2 separate regions of the Homo sapiens genome follow, and region 2 is linked to region 1. The links are contacts of gene promoters, found by promoter capture Hi-C in blood cells and fetal thymus (Javierre and others, 2016). All regions are on one chromosome and are shown on one strand. The core of a region is centred on a gene start or on the middle of the fragment in contact, and the rest is flanking DNA. Distances in the headings are between cores, read along the strand shown. Region 1 holds the start of C12orf75 (chromosome 12 open reading frame 75). Region 2 overlaps NUAK1 (NUAK family kinase 1).

Region 1 (3,616 bases), core at 612-3,111:
GCTTCTAGGCCAGTTTCTAGGTGTCAAGGTCCATTTTCTGTCTCTTACAAGTGTCCTAAGGCTGGAGTCTAGTGTCAGCACAGAAATAAGCAGGAGAATATCTTTCGGCTACTTGATAGTTCCCTTTTCCCCAGTTCTGGCTATGTATTAGGATGGACACTGAACCAAGACAGCACAGGCTGGTAGAGAAGCAGTACTTCTAGAAGTCAACTAAAAAATGCCTTTATTTATCCAAGAATTAATTATCCTCTCAGCACATGGCTACCACAGCTAATTTTCAAATGGAGAATGCTGTATATTTTGCATCCTGAATGATAGAACGCACCATTGCCTCAAAGGCCATGTTCAAAAACCTGCCAAGTCCTTGATTCTGGTTCATATTTTTATTTTTATGTAAACACAACAGTATGGTTTCAGGGAAGTCTGTTTTTTTTTTGTTTTGTTTTGTTTTTTTGAGACAGAATCTCGCTTTGTCACCCAGGCTTGAGTGCAGTGGTGCTATCTCGGCCCACTGCAACCTCCACCTCTCAGGTTCAAGTGATTCTCTTGCCTCAGCCTCTTAAGTAGCTGGGATTACAGGTGTATGCCACCACACCCAATTAATCTTTGTATTTTTAGTAGAGACAGGGTTTCACCATGTTAGGCTGGTCTCGAACTCCTGACCTCGTGATCCGCCCGTGTCAGCCTCCCAAAGTGCTAGTTTACAGGTGTAAGCTACCATGCCTGGCCTTAGGCAAGTCTTTTAACTAGCATCCCAGCATCCTCTGGGACTCTATGGCACCTGTATTCCTCTGTTAACATTCCTTCTATATTGTAATTAATTTATTTTAATCTATCTGCCTGGTTAGACTGTCTCCCACATATTTGTATCCCCGGAACTTAACAAAGGACTTGGCACAGGCTAGGCTCCCTACAAATATTAAGTGAATTTAAAATGGAGCTTTAATTCCTGGCTTGAAGTCACCTCACAAAACATTTAGTGAGTCTGTATTACAAGCCAGGAGGACGCTATGAAAAATCAGATAGTCTTTCCCTTTAAGGAATTTGTATTCATTTCTATTAGAGTTAATAATAATAATGATAATAGCTGATATTTACTAAAGATAGGGAACTTTGTTAGGTACTTTATATGTACCTGAGTTACTGTCATTTTATAGGTGAAACAAGGGATGTACCCAATGGGTTAAGTTACTTTCCTGAGGTCACGCAGCTATCACGGGGCAGAACGAAGACTTTAACTCAGACAGTCTGACTGCAGTAACGCTGGCCCAACTATCATGTTGAAACGTACAGCACCGTGCCCATCCACAGTTCTCTCATTTATCAGAGAGGAGGTCCTGAATCCAAGTTATTGAAATCGTTGCAGACATTTGTTTTAAAGAGGAATAGGTCAAGATGACCAATCTGGGGAAGAACTTTTGCCAGGCAGTGCGTATGGGGAACAGAGCTGCGTTGGCCTTCTGTTAAAGCAGCTGGGGATTTCGGTTTTGGCTTCAGACCTGCACAACATTCAGTCAATAGCATTTATTGGGCGTCCACTGTGCAGGGTGCCCCCTGCTACTTCCTCTCCTCCCCACATCCTGGGGCAGGGAGGGGAAGTGAGGAAAGAAAAGCAAAGACAAGGCGAGGAGGATGCTGAGGGTGGGCAGGTGGGCACCCCCACCCCGCTGCGCCGGCCACGCCCCTTGCCGCTCCCTCGCCCCGGGGCCCACTTTAAACTCCCGCCCCTCGTAATAACGACCAATGGCCGACCGCGAAGCGCGCAGGAGGCTGGGGATTGGCCAGTGCCGAGGTTGCTGGGGCGACGGGTGGGTCCGGCGGGTCCCCGGGCGGGGCGGGGCCGGGGCGAGGGGTGCCGGGTGGTTTCCGCCCGGCAGCCCGCAGCCCGCTGCGCCCCGGGCCGCGTCTCCCGGCGGTGGGAGGGGGCGGCCCCCACTCGGTTCCTGGCCCCTCGCGGCCCCGTCAGCCTCCCGCTCGGGGTGCGCCGCCCTTCGTCTGGGTCTCCGCCCCCAGGACCCGCGGCCGAGAGCTCCGGAGCGCGGCTTCCCCGGCCGGCTGCGCGATGGGCTGCGGGAACTCCACCGCCACCAGCGCGGGCGCGGGCCAAGGTGAGTCCGGCGGGAGGCGGGGGCCGGCGGGGGCGGGCGGGAGAGGCGGCGGGAAGGAAGGGTGCAGGGATCTTGGGTGGGGGGCGCGCAGCCCCCTCTCCCCGTCCCCATTTTCGGGACAGGAGCAGACCGCCCGTTTCTGGAAAGACCGAAAGCGTGGCAAGTCCCCCGCGCGGGGGCGGTTGCGCCTGGAGCAGTCGAGCCTGCGGGGCGTCTCTGCCGAGGGAGCGCGGGGAGGACTGTCGCGGGCTCCCCTGCAGCCGCCGGGGCTCACCTGCAGCTGGCGGGTCTCAGGGCTCTCCTGGGGGAGAGGATTCCCGGACGTGGTCCCCGGCCGCTCCCCCACCTCCCACACTTGCTCCTCCAGGCCTCTCCCCCATCTCCTCGGAACCAAGGCGCTGCACCTGGAAAAGTGCAGCAGAGCAAGACAGGACTTTTCGGGCAGTGGTGGTGGGGCAGGAAGCGGGGAAGGGTGGGAGTGGGGTTGGGGAGAACTAGAAGCAGAGCTGCAAAAACGCATCTGTGTCTGCCTTGATGCCGAAGACCGGCTGGGCTGCTCTTAGGATTTCTCTGAGAAGCTGCAGCAGTAAGGATGTTTTACATATGTGAGACAGAGCTTTATTATTAACAGTCTGTTAAGATACTTTTCATTAAACACACACACACACACACACACACACACACACAAATAGAAACTTCTTTTTATACCACTTCATGTTGATTGGCAGGCAAGGTCTTCTAGCTTCCCCGGGCCAGCCAGGCTTTGTGTCAAGTGACTTTTGCCAAAACTCACCCTTCTATTTCACCCTGCCTATGTCTCGGGATTTAAGGTACCCTGGATCTGTTTTGAGTAATAACTGCTGACCTATTTCAGTGTCCTTTTGGATAAAGAGCTCCTATCTCCTCCAATTGAAGTCAACCAGATGCCACATCCTAGCCTAACCAGCAAATGCAAACAGCAGTCAGAGGCTGCGGTATTTCCTAGGCGGCTGTGGAGGCCCTGGCAATGACTTTGTAACCTTGGGCCTGTCACATCCCTTAACCCAGACGCCGGTAAAAAATGGAGTTTAAGACTCAATTTGAGTCTTGAATTAAATCCTGTCCTGGTGACAATGCAGAGAGCCACAGGAGAGCGAACTTTTTAGATTCATTTAACAGTGGGGAAGGTTAGTGTAGCACCTTATGCTAATGAGGGCAGACGGGCTTCAAACCTGCCTGTGGCCAGAAAGCTCTGCTTGTATGAAACAATGTCAGGGCCACACCCCGCACTCAAATTGTGTCTCAGTCTACTAGGTACTGTGGCCGTATGCAATCCACTGCATGTGTAGCCTACTTAAAAAAGGTGAAGAAAAGTTATCCACATTAAAAAAAATTGTAGGAAGGATTTGTAGCAGATTTCCCTTAAAATGAGGCTAGTTTCATGCATGTACATTTTGATTTATTAATGAACTGCTTGTCAGTTTTAGGGATGGGGAGGGGGTACCATTGCCAAATGAAAATCAGAATGA
Region 2 (3,455 bases), core at 796-3,295, 790 kb after region 1:
AGCATTTCCTGCCGTCCCATCATGGGGATGAGCCTCGCCCAGTACTCAACTCTCAGTTCCTACCCTCAAGGAGGCTGGGGCAGGGGTCTGTGGTCATCTTGGAGACCCTAGTTGTGCCCTGGGTTGGGGAGTGTGCTCATGCCCCTAGACATGGCACCTGCCATTTTCTCTGCCAGGATCCTCCACATCCTGTCCTCGCCATTAACATTTTCGGTTGACCAACTCCTCTGCATCCATCTGCTGCAGACATGGCCCATCCCCTGCAATGACCCCTTTGCAGATATGGGTCCCCTTTTATAACCTCGCTCACCATTGCTCATAAGCTTCATTTGCACGAAAATCATTTCTGTTTTATGCACCACGGCATCTCCAGTACTAAGCATGTGCCTAATGTACAGTATATACAAAAAAGCTGTTGCTAAAATGGAGCCCAAGTATTAAGAAGGACCCTTGACAAACAGAAAACCATAGTGGGACATCTGATCATTCCAGCCAACCTAAACCCCAGCCATCTGCCGCTGAGCCTTCTTTTACTTGCTCACCTTTCAAACGTGGAATCCCTTCTTGTCCCAAAATCACTGAGCCTGAACTTCCTCATCTTCCAAATGGAGACAATAACAGTGCCCACTCCAGAGGGGTTGGGGGTGATTCACAATAAAAGCTAGCAGTCATAATAATTACCAGTTATCAAGCCCTCACTATGTGCCAGGCCCTCAGTACCTTTCTGTTAAGCCTCTCAACCTCTCACTCATTAAATTCTTACAAAAACATTATTATTTCTGCCTTCTCAATGAATATAAACTGAGTCTGAGGGAAGTTAAGTAACGTGCCCTAAGGCACATAAATAAATAGGAGGTCTGGGTCTCCATACGCTGAAAGACCATACTCTTAACCTCTGAAGCACACTGACAAAGCAATCAGCACAGTGCCTGGCACATAGTAGGTGTTACATAAATATGAGCTGAATCAGAACCTCTGGACATGAAGGCCCCATCGAGGCCGCACTGCCTTGTCCCCACCAGAAGTCCTTTTGTTAGCTAATATTTAAACCACTTCCATCTTCAAAAGCACATCTATCAATCAGTGTTCCTGCTGCTTTCTGTGGGACCAGGTGGGCAAAAGGCAGAATTGTATGGGAGGGGCTGGGAGGCATGTCCCTAAAACGATGTGAGAATGAGTCGATTCCACAGCAAGCAATTGTGGAAAATCTGTTCTGGATAAGGCATTGATCCAGTCCTAGAGAACATGAACTAGACCTACCCTTCAAGTTGCCTACCATCCTACTGGAAAGGCCAGTAGACACAGGGGCTCCTCCCTGCCCAGCCCCTCCCTATTCACTCTCCTTTTGGGAGGAACACCCTGACTTCACTGTGAGGACTATTCCTACCCCCAAGATGCCTTTTGAAAGAGACCAAGATACTTCACCCTCTCCCATGCCAACAGGCAGGCACACAACTCTAGAGCTAGCCCTGGAGATGCTCTTTCTAAGGTTTCAAGAACCATCCCAGCAAAGTGTTCTTTTGGGAGCCCACAGACACATGATGTGTATGCACACAGATGGGGCCTCTTGAGAAGTCATTCCATGCATGGCTCCCCCATTTCTATCCCTGTGTCTTTCTCACACTCCTAAATAACTATCAGTTCAAACCAGAAAACCGAGTCTCACTTTGCTCAGCTATTCATTTTCCCATTTCCAAAAAAAGCCAAGGCAGTGTTGCTGCTGCTTCTCTCTCACACTGCGTGCCTTACACTCAGTCATCTCCTCCATAAAATGGGCCTACTTCACTTGACCGGTACTAGTTGAAATGCAGTCTTCAGGACCCACATAGATGTCATTTTTATAATAACTTCGTCAAACACCACAAAAATACAATATCAAATTATTGTGGAGCTTCATCCCATTTCAGGGGAGGGATTCAGTAAGGATAACATTGACCTACTTTGCACAAAGGTGCAGGAAGTCCAGCTTCATTCTCTGCCAAATAATGTTCACACCTACAAACTATTTACCTGCCACTGTCCATGCTACACAATGACAGTCAGTATATAGCCTAACAAAAGGGAAGGTCATTCATTGTCAATGCCCCAGACATAGCAAGCAGAGACTGCAAGCCAGGAACTGCTGTGTTCCCCTCTGTGTCCTCAATATCTAGGAAAGGATCTGGCTCTATAGTAGTAGACTTCCAATAAATATTTGTTGAGCTTAATTTTATAAAAAATGATGACTATCGTAAGTCTTAATTTGTATAAGAATTATTCCTTTCTTACCTATCCACCCACTACCTGGCCCAATATCTACAAGTTGCTGAAGTCGGGCAGTCTACCCAGATTCCACTCTGGTCCAAGTTGCCTCTGTACTTGTGGCTAAGACCACAAATCCATGGAGGCAATACCATGCTGTATGAATGGCCTCCCACCTATAGATACAATGTCATCCCACTTCATTTTATTGCCCCCACCACCACCCCATGAGATAAGCTAGAAATTTTGCAGGAGAGGAAAACAGAAACCAACAAGAACTCCCCAAGTTTCCACAGGTCACAAAGGCCCCACCCAAGTTTCAACCCAGGTACTTGGATCCAGTGGCCAATGCTGCTTCCACTGGACCACGCCTGTTTCCACATTTGTCAAATCTATGGAAATATGTGGTAAGGAAGAAAACACTCTTAGCCCTGGCATTGTGATGCTTCCTTTCTCTGGAATGTAAAGCCTTGGGGGAAACTAGCTCAGATAGCAGATTGCTCAAATGTCGTGGAAGGTCTGGTCGGGGAGCTAATCAGAACAATTTGAATGTGCGGCTAAGCAAGGACACTCCTTCCTGGATCAAGCGTTGCTTTGATGGCAATACTTTATAAGAACCATTCCCTTACAACAAAACTGTCAAATCCAGCAACCACAGGCCAGAAACATCCCTGCGGAACCCCGCCAAGCTGCTTTCTGATGTACTGTACACACAAATACCAATATTCCCCAGATGTTCTCCATGTAAAACATTTGGTTTGAGACACTGCTCTTCTTTCCCAAAAACTCTTACATTTGTTTAATGGACTCATACAGTTCAGCTAAAATATCCTGGAGCAGACATCTGAAGCCAGCCCGGCTCTAATGTGAGCATCCCATCTGCAGAAAAGACGAACAAGTAAATAAGACCATCCTTCCCAAGATTTATGCTCCTTGCATCTTTAAGCAGGTCATAAAATGTAAGCTATGTAAGGATAATAATGCAAGTTGCTTTCAAGTGTATTTCTGAGTCCATCTCAGTATTAATCTAAGACTGATGTTCCAACAGAGACTGGGTCTGGCATGCTAATAAGGGGACTAAATTCTACTTCTTACTCCCTCAAAAAAGAAATCTAAAAATCTGTCACTTGAGCAACATAGATGACTGAGATAAAGGTAGGTTTTTCCTGGTTTTAATTATCCAAATATAGCAATAGCTTCTTTATGCCAAAACC

Evidence for each region. Contacts are between HindIII fragments. The CHiCAGO score rates a contact against its expected background, and 5 or more counts as called.
Region 2: a fragment that was not itself captured here is called in contact with the fragment with the promoter of C12orf75 in region 1 in 1 of 17 cell types (neutrophils); the score reaches 5.1 in neutrophils.

Annotation. Positions count from the first base shown.
Region 1 is chr12:105,328,830-105,332,445 of GRCh38, forward strand. It overlaps C12orf75 (chromosome 12 open reading frame 75), which reads left to right and starts at 1,862. Exons shown (of 6, transcript NM_001145199.2): 1 at 1,862-2,108. The coding sequence starts at 2,063. RefSeq lists silencers at 1,498-2,157, 2,188-2,287 and an enhancer at 2,944-3,487. The HindIII fragment of the contact is 8,522 bases long and covers 1-3,616 here.
Region 2 is chr12:106,115,755-106,119,209 of GRCh38, forward strand. All of the region lies in intron 1 of NUAK1 (NUAK family kinase 1), which reads right to left. Among named protein-coding and RNA genes, the nearest start is that of NUAK1, 21 kb to the right of the region's middle. RefSeq lists enhancers at 1-14, 15-591. The HindIII fragment of the contact is 3,448 bases long and covers 322-3,455 here.